3 separate regions of the Homo sapiens genome follow, and regions 1 and 2 are each linked to region 3. The links are contacts of gene promoters, found by promoter capture Hi-C in human tissues and cell types (Jung and others, 2019). All regions are on one chromosome and are shown on one strand. Each heading gives the region's core, a stretch centred on a gene start or on the middle of the fragment in contact. The rest is flanking DNA. Distances are from core to core; before and after follow the strand shown.

Region 1 (3,293 bases), core at 739-3,238, 110 kb after region 3:
AAACCTCATAAGACATTATTATTATAGCTTTCAGTCAAAACTGACACATCCCCCCCCTTTTTTTTTTTATTTGAGACGGAGTCTCGCCTTGTTGCCCAGGCTGGAGTGCAGTGGTGCAATCTCGGCTCACTGCAAGCTCCACCTCCCAAGTTCAAGCGATTCTCCTCCCTCAGCCTTCCATGTAGCTGGGACTACAGGCGCGTGCTACCACACCCAGCTAATTTTTTTGTAGTTTTAGTAGAGACGGGGTTTCACCGTGTTGGCCAGGATGGTCTCTATCTCCTGATCTCGTGATCCACCTGCCTTGGCCTCCCAAAGTGCTGGGATTACAGGCGTGAGCCACCACGCCCGGCCACACATCTCCCTTTTAAAAACAAAAAAAACAAAAAAACAAAAAAAACAACCACTTGGCCCAGCACGGTGGCTCATGCCTGTAATCCCAGCACTTTGGGAGGCCCAGATGGGCAGATCACGAGGTCAGGAGATCGAGACCATCCTGGCCAACACGGTGAAACCCCATCTCTACTACAAATACAAAAATAACCCGGGCATGGTGACGCGTGCCTGTAATCCCAGCTACTCGGGAGGCTGAGGCAGAAGAATCACTTGAACCCAGGAGGTGGAGGGTGCGGTGAGCCGAGATCACGCCACTGCACTCCAGCCTGGCGACAGAGCGAGACTCTGTCTCAAAAAAAAATAAAAAAAATAAAAAAATAAATAATCACTTTTTACTCCTTTTTTTAACCCTGGGTTCCCAAAGTGCTGGGATTACAGGCATAAGCCACCCCGCCCAGCCATCCTTTCTGTATTTTTTTTTTAATAGGGTCTTGCTCTGTCACCCAGGCTAGAGTGCAGTGGTATGAGCATGGCTTGCCATAACTTCAAATCCTGAGCTCAAGTGAACCTCCTACTTCAGCTTCTGGAGTAGCTGGGCCTACAGGAGCAGGCCACTACACCCAGCTAATTTGTTATTTTTTGTAGAGATGGGGGTCTCACTGTGTTGCCTGGGCTGGTCTCGAACGAACTCCTGGCCTCAAGCAATCCACCTGCCTTAGCTACCCAAAGTGATAGGATTACAGGTATGAGCTCTGCCACCGCACCTAGCCCTTTCTGAATCTTTGAGTTTCCATCTGGGATCATTTTCCTTCTGCCTGAAACTTACTCTTTATTATCTCCTTTTGCATACATCTGCTGGTGATAAATTCTCTCAGCTTCTATTTGTCTGAAGGTCTTTTTAAAAATACCTTCTGGCCGGGTGCTGGTGGCTCACACCTGTAGTCCCAGCACTTTGGGAGGCCGAGGAGGGCAGATCGCCTGAGGGTGGGAGTTCGAGACCAGCCTGGCCAGCATGGTGAAATCCCGTCTCTACTAAAAATACAAAAATTAGCTGGGTGTGGTGGCAGGCACCTGTAATCCCAGCTAATCCGGAGGCTGAGGCAGGATAATCGCTTGAACCCAGGAGGCAGAGGGTGCAGTGAGCCTAGATCATGCCACTGTACCAGCCTGGGCAACAGAGCGAGACTCCATCTCAAACAAACAAACAAACAAACAAAACTTTCTTTCCTAAGTGTAGTTTTATGGGTTACTTTACTCTAGGTAGGTTGTTTCCTCTTATATCACTTACAATGTATCATTCTATTGTCTTCTGGCCTCTATTATTTCTGTGATGGGGCCAGCTGCCAGTGTAACTGTTGCTCTTGTGAAGGGACTCCACGTTTTATCTCTGGGTCCTTTTAAGACTTTTTCTTGTGTTTGGTTTTCAGCAAATTTACTATACTGCTCCTAGGGGCTGATTTCTTTTTGTTATCCTGCTTGGGGCTAATAGGGCTTCATTTGTGATTGATGTCTTTCATACATTTTGAAAAGTTTTAGCCATGTGGTTTCAAATGTTGCCTTGTCTGCCCTTCCTTTTGGAACTTCTGTTACACACATATTAAGCCTTCGCACTGTATCCTTCCTATGTGATTAGTCATATGTTGCTGCATAACAAATTACTCCAAAACGTGGGTGTAATTTGTTATTTCATGGTTTCTATGCATTAGATCAGGAATCTCAGAGCAGCTTAGTTAGGTGGTGCTGGTCAGGGTCTCTCATGGGGTGCTGCTAACCTGTCAGTTGGGCTGGAAGTCTCCTGAAGGCTAAAGGAGCTGTTTCCAAGTGGCTGGCAGGTCTCAGGTACTTTCTGACTGCTCCTCAGCACACAGACCTCTCTGCAGGGCCACCTAGGTGTCTGCATGACATGGCAATGGCACTTAGCTTCCCTCAGAGTGAGTGTGCTGGTTAATTTTTTTTTTTTTTGAGGCGGAGTCTCGCTCTGTGGCCCAGGCTGGAGTGCGGTGGCGTGATCTCTGCTCACTGCAAGCTCCGCCTCCCGGGTTCACGCCATTCTCCCGCCTCAGCCTCCCGCCTCTGCCTCCCGAGTAGCTGGGACTACAGGCACCCACCACCATGCCCGGCTAATTTTTTGTATTTTTAGTAGAGATGGGGTTTCACTGTGTTAGCCAGGATGGTCTCCATCTCCTGACCTCGTGATCCGCCTGCCTCAGCCTCCCAAAGTGCTGGGATTACAGGCGTGACCCACCACGCCCCGCCAGGGGTGCACTTTTAAAATTTAATAAATAGTGCCAAATTGTCCTCCAAAAAGCTTGATCTTACCAATAGCCTATGGGGATGCCTATTTCCGATTCTGTTGATAATACTAGATATTATCTGTCTATAAATCCTTAGGTAAAATTAGGCATATTTTCATATGGTTATTAGGCACTGGATGTTTTTTCTTCTATGAATAGCCCATTTATTTCTTCAGCCCATTTTTTACTAACAAATTGTTCATATTTTCTCACTGATTTATATGATGGAGATATATATATATGTGTGTATGTATATATATGTATGTGTCTTTGTCCTTTATGTATGTGTCAAGTATTTCCGTTATTTAACATCAGTTAATGTGTCTTTTCTTATATAGACTTGAATGTTTATGTATTTAAATATTATATACTACTTTGTCGTTTCTGGGTTTCATGGCAAGCTCTGGAGGGTCTTCCACATCATAAAGGTAGAAAACTATACTTCTGAGCCAGGCACGGTGGTGTGCACCTGTATAGTTCCAGCTATTCAGGAGGCTGAGGTGGGAGGACTGGTTGAGTCCAGGAGTTCTAGGCTGCAGTGAGCCATAATTGCACCACTGCACTCCAGCCTGGGCAACAGAGCAAGACCTTCTTTCTTAAAAAAAAAAAATGAGGGGAGGGGCCCAAAGGTTGTTTGAAAGTCTGTGCTGGGCATGTGGCCAC
Region 2 (3,237 bases), core at 360-2,859, 92 kb after region 3:
CCACTGCGCCCGGCCCTATTTCCTCTTTTGTGAGAATTGACTGAGGCCCCTTGAACTTCCACGAGAACTACGTTGTTGCATTTCTTGTAAACAATGTTTTTGTTGAGATAGGGTCTCCCTCTGTAGCCCAGGCTGAAGTGCAATGTTGCGATCACGGCTCTCTGCAGCTTTGACCTCGCAGGCTCAAGTGATCCTCCTGCCTCAGCCTCCTGAGTAGCTGCACTACAAGGCACACGCCACCACATCCAGCTAATTTTTTTTTTTTTTGAGATGGAGTATCGCTCTGTTGCCAGGCTGGAGTGCAGTGGCACAATCTCGGCTCACTGCAACTTCCTCCTCCTGGGTTCAAGCAATTCTCCTGCCTCAGCCTCCCGCGTAGCTGGGACTCTAGGCACATGCCACCAGGCCCAGCTAATTTTTTTGTATTTTTAGTAAAGACGGGGTTTCACCACATTGGCCAGGGTGGTCTCGACCTCTTGACCTCGTGATCCGCCCGCCTCAGCCTCCCAAAGTGCTGGCATTACAGGCATGAGCCACTTGCACCCAGCCCATCCAGCTAATTTTAAAATTTTTTGTCGAGATGGAGTCTCACTATGTTGCCAGAGCTGGTCTTGAACTCCTGGGCTCAAGCGATCCTCCCAACTCAACCTCCTACAGCGCTGGGATTGCAGGCGTGAGCCATCACGTCTGGCCTTCTTGTAAATCTGTAGACTGGCTTTTTGGACGTGAACACCACAATGTGCTATGACACCTCGGGCTGGGCCATTATCAATTTGTAATTTTGTCCCTAGCATTTGAGCGCAGATCACTCTGCCACCCACTTGGTGGGGTGACAAGAACAAGCTTCTATCCATTTGGCAAATAGGAGCTTTCTTTGATTCGTCCTGACAACTTTTTTTTTCCTTCAGACAGAGTCTTGCTCTGTCGCCCAGGCTGGAGTGTAGTGGTACTGCAACCTCTGCCTCCCGGGTTCAAGCGATTCTCCTGCCTCAACTTCCTGAGTATCAGGTGCCTGCCACCACGCCCAGCTAATTTTTGTATTTTTAGTAGCGATGGTTTCACCATGTTGGCCAGGCTGGTCTCGAACTCCTGACCTCAGGTCATCCGCCCACCTTGGCCTCCCAGAGTGCTGGGATTTCAGGCGTGAGCCACCGCACCTGGCCCTAACAACTTATTTATAGCTGTGAGGGGAGAGTCTACCAATGCTTGATTTCCTGCCTGTAGCCCTGGATGACTTGGTGACCAGGTGACATGACAAGCAAGGCGCTAACAGGAAGAGGAAGCAGGAAGGGACTCTCCACGCCCCTCTGCTCTCAAGTAGCCTCAAGTTTTGTTGTCAAGATCAGTTCTACCTATGGGACAACTTTCAAGAATGGCACAAATTTTGACAGCAGCTATAGCTCACAAGCATTTGAAAATTAAGAGGTTGGCTGGCTGAGAGGCAAGAGTGGATAGGCAGAGATGAATAACGCATTTCCCAGCTCTTCTCACAGTGTACCTGTCCTTTAGGACCAGTTCCAGTGCTGAACCGATCTTAGGGTGTCCCTCAATCCTGGCCTCCCATGTGGGAGCCCAGATAGTCCTGCCCCCCAATGTGGGAGCCCAGATAGTCCTGCCCCAAGGCTGGAGGGAGAAAGGCCAGCTCCCCACGTCATCCCAGCCCCGCACCTCACCTGCGCTTCCCAGCAGCCTTTGGCAGCGTAGTCCCTGAGTTTTCGGAAGCTGTGGAGGCATCGCCCAGGATCTGACACCTGTCAATGGGAGATCACCGAGCCTTTGTACAACTGTGTCTTGGGAGGAACTCAGAACCAAGACCCAGAAGGGCCGACACTACGCTAACTTCCCACCTCTTCTCTCTCAAATGGTGGAGTCATTTTTGGGGGTACCAAGAATAGCCGACTGACCAGTGGTTCCCGGAGGCTGAGAGACCGGGAGCAGCAAGAGCCACCTCCCTTTTGTGGACAGAAACGCATCCAAGGACCAGCATCAACTACGCCTTTGTCCAGCATAACTCCCCCCGACCCAGAGCAGGCACCACTCACATCTGTCCTCCTGTCGCTTTCCCAGAGGAGGTAGGAGCTGGTCAGACATCCCTGATGAGCAGCCTCCTCAAACAGGTCATGGGCCTGCTGCTGCTTCTCCTCATCCTAGAATAAATCCCAGCAGAGTTCATTGTTCCCTTATTCTTTTTCATTTTTATTTTTTGAGACAGTTTCACTCGTCGCCCAGGTTGGAGTGCAATGGCGCCATCCTGGCTCACTGCAACCTCCGCCTCCTGGGTTCAACCAATTCTCCTGCCTCAGCCTCCTGAGTAGCTGGGATTACAGGAGCCCACCATCATGCCCGGCTAATTTTTGTATTTTTAGTAGAGACGGGGTTTCACCATGTTGGCCAGGCTGGTCTCAAAATCCTGGCCTCAGGTGATCCACCCACCTCAGTCTCCCAAAGTGCTGGGATTACAGGCATGAGCCACTGTGCCTGGCTGGTTTTTTTGTTGTTGTTGAGGCAGAGTCTCCCTCTGTCACCCAGGCCAAAGTATAGTGGCACGATCTTGGCTAACTAAAACCTCAGCTTCCCGGGTTCAAGCAACTCTCATGCCTCAGCCTCCCAAGTAGCTAGGATTACAGGTGCCCACCACCATGCCCGGCTAATTTTTGTGTTTTTTAGTAAAGACGTGGTTTCAACACATTGGCCAGGTTGGTCTCAAACTCCTGACCTCAGGTGATCCACCCGCCTCGGCCTCCCAAGGTGCTGGGATTACAGGAATGAGCCACCATGACCGGCCCTTATTCTTTACTTGATGTTCAATCACTCTACTCACCATCTTCCTCCTTTTCCATACTTTTTTTTTTTTTTTCTGAGACTGAGTCTCACTCTGTTGCCAGGCTGGAGTGCAGTGGTGCAATCTCGGCTCACTGCAACCTCCGCTTCCCAGGTTCAAGCAATTCTCCCTGCCTCAGCCTCCTGAGTAGCTGGGATTATGGGCACCCGCCACCACGCCCAGCTAATTTTTGTGTTTTTTAGTAAAGACGTGGTTTCACCATTTTGGCCAGGCAGAGAGGTCCACACGAGCAGGAGAGGCCCACGAGGAGCAGGGCCAGCAGACGAGTGAGCATCGAGGTTCGATGCCTCCTTGAGATCTGCTCTGCTGTTCTCACCGTCCCCCACTCCCCTGCCAGGCGGGTCATGGAGCCAGGATCGGAGCCCGTGGCCAGGCCCACATGTGTCCCCTGGCTT
Region 3 (3,077 bases), core at 232-2,731:
GAGTACCCGGACGCTCCGGAGCTGTCCCAGACTCCAGGGGCGGAAAAGCCGGGCTGAAGAGGTGCCCTTCCTCCACGCTTCTGGTGCCAATCTCCCCTGCTGCGCCCACCCTGGGTCCCTAGCCTGGGCTCCAAACCAACTCCGAGCTAGGGAAGCTCCGAGCCAGGGTGCTTCTAGAGTGTCCGGCCCACCCCTCCGCTTCATTTCCCAAGACAGTGAGGGCGGGGCTAGAGGCCAGGTGCGGAGGTGCGGGACAGGAGCCAAGCTGGGTCGTAGTGGGATCCACCTGTGCGTGATACGTAACAGAAGGGAGAGGCGAGGCGCGGGGAGGTCCGCAGGGATGTGGGAGACGCGACGGGGAGGACTGGGACGAAACAAACTAGGTCCGCAAGGGTATAAGGGGAGCAGCTCGGAGGGTTGGGGCGAGGCGGGGTCTACAGGGGTGTGGGGGGCTTGGCAGGGAGCGCTGGGGCGACGCGGAGCTCCGCAGCGTTGGCGGGGAGCGTTGTGGGGAGACGGGGTCTGCAGGAATGTGAGGGCGCGGTGGGGAGCGTAGCGGGGTATGCAAGGTTGTGAGGGTTGTGGATGGGAGGGCTGGGGCGAGGCGGGGTCCGCAGAGATGTGGGGGGCGCAGAGATGGGGGGGGTCCGCGGGCCCGCCGGGGACCGCGCAGCCTCGGGCTCTGTGCCCGGGGCCGCGCGGGTTAACTAGAGAAGGTGACGCGCGCCCCTGTTGCTCAGCCGCGGCGCGTGCCTTCCCTGCGGCGATCCTAATTGGCCCGACAGAAGCCCGCCCCCAGAAGCCCCTCCCACAGTAGGCAAGGCCCCGCGTGCCGCAACGCTCCCAGAGTTGCGCGTCAGCCTGGACTCAGCGCCTGCGCTACGAGGCTGGGCGGGGCGCGGCCGGATCGGTCGAGAGCGTCCTGGCTGATGACGGTCTCCCGTGCCCACGCCCCAAACGCAGTCTCTGGCCTGGATGTGCTCGGAGCCCACGAGGTGCAGAGGCTCGGACGGCGAAAGGGACCTGGCTGAGATCTGGGTCTTAAACCGCGGGCTCGGCCCAGCATCCCGGCAGCGTGCGCCCACAAGTGACACCCGGCCGGGCGCGGTCTGCGGGATCGCAGGCGCCGGGTCTCATCTCCAGTTCACACACGGGACGAAACGGGCCACCCCTACCAGCTCTGAGAGCATGCACCTCCAACTCCATCCCTCCCCACATGCCCGACCCCCCAACCCGTAACTCAGGCAGACACCTGGGCGTCCCCCTTCAGCGAATGCCCACACCGCGGGCAGGCCTGCCCCTCACCCCGCAGTCAGGGCGCCCTGCATCCTTCTTTGTAAAACCCATAGCTGTAGAGGGAGCGGAATGGTGGGGCAGGGCTGGGAGCCCAGCGGGAGTGAGTGGTGGGGAATGATGGTGGCCAAGGTCACACAAAGCAGTGAATTCACTTCATGTCACAGAACTGCTCAGGTTACGATAGTTACTTTTGTTATGTATTTTACCACAATTTTTAAAAAGCAAACCAAAACCAACCAAGAGTGCTTCCCCCACACCTCAAAATCATCCTGCAGCAGCTCCCTGGCCCAGCTCTCTCTCACCCTGACCCTGGGCCCCTCTCCCACCACCCAGGGCTAGCCCTGTGGACCAACCATCTCTGCCAGCCCCTCCCCGACCCTCCAGCCAGGGAGGTGGGGCGCTGGCCGGTGAATGGGGCAGGCCAGGCCCAAAGGCTGGCCCAGGGCTCACCAGCTCTGGACTGGGCGTCCCGTCTGAGGTGGGGATGACCAACATGCCAGCTCTGGGTTTTAGCTGAGGATGGGCACATCAAGCACTGACAGCCAGCAAGCTGGGCACAGGCGATGCTCAACCTCTAACACATCGGCTGAGAACCTCACCTGCCTCTCCCTGCCTGGGAGCCCTGGCAAGACAGCTCCTCTCCCAGGCCCAGCACAGGCAGGCGCTGGACAGCCACTTCCTAAGGGGTGCGCGGCCGTCAAGGCAGAGGTGGGTATCCCTGCACCTCACACCTCTCAGGAGGTCAGGATCCACATCCGTCGCCTGCTTTCCTGGGCTGCCCCTGGGGCTTGTGGGCTGAGATCAACCCCTTGTGCCCTGCCCCAGGCCCTCCCTCAGGCGAGGCCCTGCCCAGGCAGGTGGTTCTTCCCTGGCTGTTCCCTTCCAACAGGTGGGGCCCAGACCATCCTATCTCTTTGGACCTGGAGACATTTCCTTAACTGGGCTTTGCAGCAGAGGGAAGAGAACAGTGGCAGAGCCAGGCGCGTACCTCCTGTGCCCAGGACAGCACCTGTAAGCAAGGGGGAAGGGAGCCACCCACCCCAGAACTCAAATGGAGAGAAAGTCAAGACAATCACCCCTGACGTGGGGCTGCACCAATCCCTGACGTCTGACCCCACTGTGGCTGTCCTCAGAGCCAAGAGGGCTCCAGAAGCCCACCCGCCTCGAAGCTGTTCAGGGAGCCTCACGGCCCGTGTTTGCCACATGGGTGTGTGCCAGGGCCAAGGGGACACAGAAGATGGCAGGATGACACTAATGGGGTGAGCAGGGCACACTGGTGCCTCCCATACTGCCCTCCAGCACCAGGCAGGGTCACCACAGCCGGCAAGCACTGGGCCTGGGGATGTGTGAAGAGATAGGGTTATTGAGAAGAGAAAACAGAACGCTGGTCATCCGTGGCACTCAGGGCTAGGCAGTCCAGGGAGCAGAAAACAGGGGTCCCGGGCCCAGTCTCCCTCCTGGAGGTCAGAGCGGAGCCCCTGGCACTGTGCCCTGGCCCAGAACCAGGCTGTGGGCTCCACGCTGCACACCCCAACTCAGGAGCAGAAAGCAAACCCCTGACTGTCCACACTCCCTGTGACTGGTCCCCTTCCTGCCGGCTCTTCACCCCCAGCCCATGGTGGCTTCACCCCATGGCACCAGCCACTGACTGCCTGCCCCTCCCTCCCATAGTGACACTTTCCTGGGGTCTGCAGGTCTCCGGTCCACTTCATGCAGACAGGCCCTGTCCCCCACTGGGGCCCAAGGCCCAGGCTAAACTACAGCCCAGCCATCCCACCCCA

The links. The method cuts DNA at HindIII sites, captures the fragments that hold promoters and counts their contacts. A contact is called where the count stands out against the background at its distance.
Region 1: a fragment that was not itself captured here is called in contact with the fragment with the promoter of CEMP1 in region 3 in 2 of the 25 tissues and cell types used here (dorsolateral prefrontal cortex and lymphoblastoid cells).
Region 2: a fragment that was not itself captured here is called in contact with the fragment with the promoter of CEMP1 in region 3 in 4 of the 25 tissues and cell types used here (dorsolateral prefrontal cortex, lymphoblastoid cells, spleen and 1 more).

Annotation. Positions count from the first base shown.
Region 1 is chr16:2,415,366-2,418,658 of GRCh38, reverse strand. It overlaps the pseudogene ABCA17P. Among named protein-coding and RNA genes, the nearest start is that of CCNF, 12 kb to the left of the region's middle. The HindIII fragment of the contact is 3,069 bases long and covers 454-3,293 here.
Region 2 is chr16:2,438,263-2,441,499 of GRCh38, reverse strand. It overlaps CCNF (cyclin F), which reads right to left. Exons shown (of 17, transcript NM_001761.3): 7 at 2,043-2,147; 8 at 1,674-1,751. Among named protein-coding and RNA genes, the nearest start is that of MIR6767, 5.5 kb to the left of the region's middle. RefSeq lists a silencer at 1,125-1,214. The HindIII fragment of the contact is 4,391 bases long and covers 1-3,237 here.
Region 3 is chr16:2,529,812-2,532,888 of GRCh38, reverse strand. CEMP1 (cementum protein 1) reads left to right here and starts at 1,481. Exons shown (of 1, transcript NM_001048212.3): 1 at 1,481-2,854. The coding sequence starts at 1,816. The coding sequence ends at 2,559. It overlaps AMDHD2 (amidohydrolase domain containing 2), which reads right to left. Exons shown (of 11, transcript NM_001330449.2): 11 at 1,472-3,077. It overlaps MIR3178 (microRNA 3178), which reads left to right and starts at 884; the gene lies at 884-967. RefSeq lists enhancers at 199-248, 1-250, 1,029-1,078. The HindIII fragment of the contact is 25,225 bases long and covers 1-3,077 here.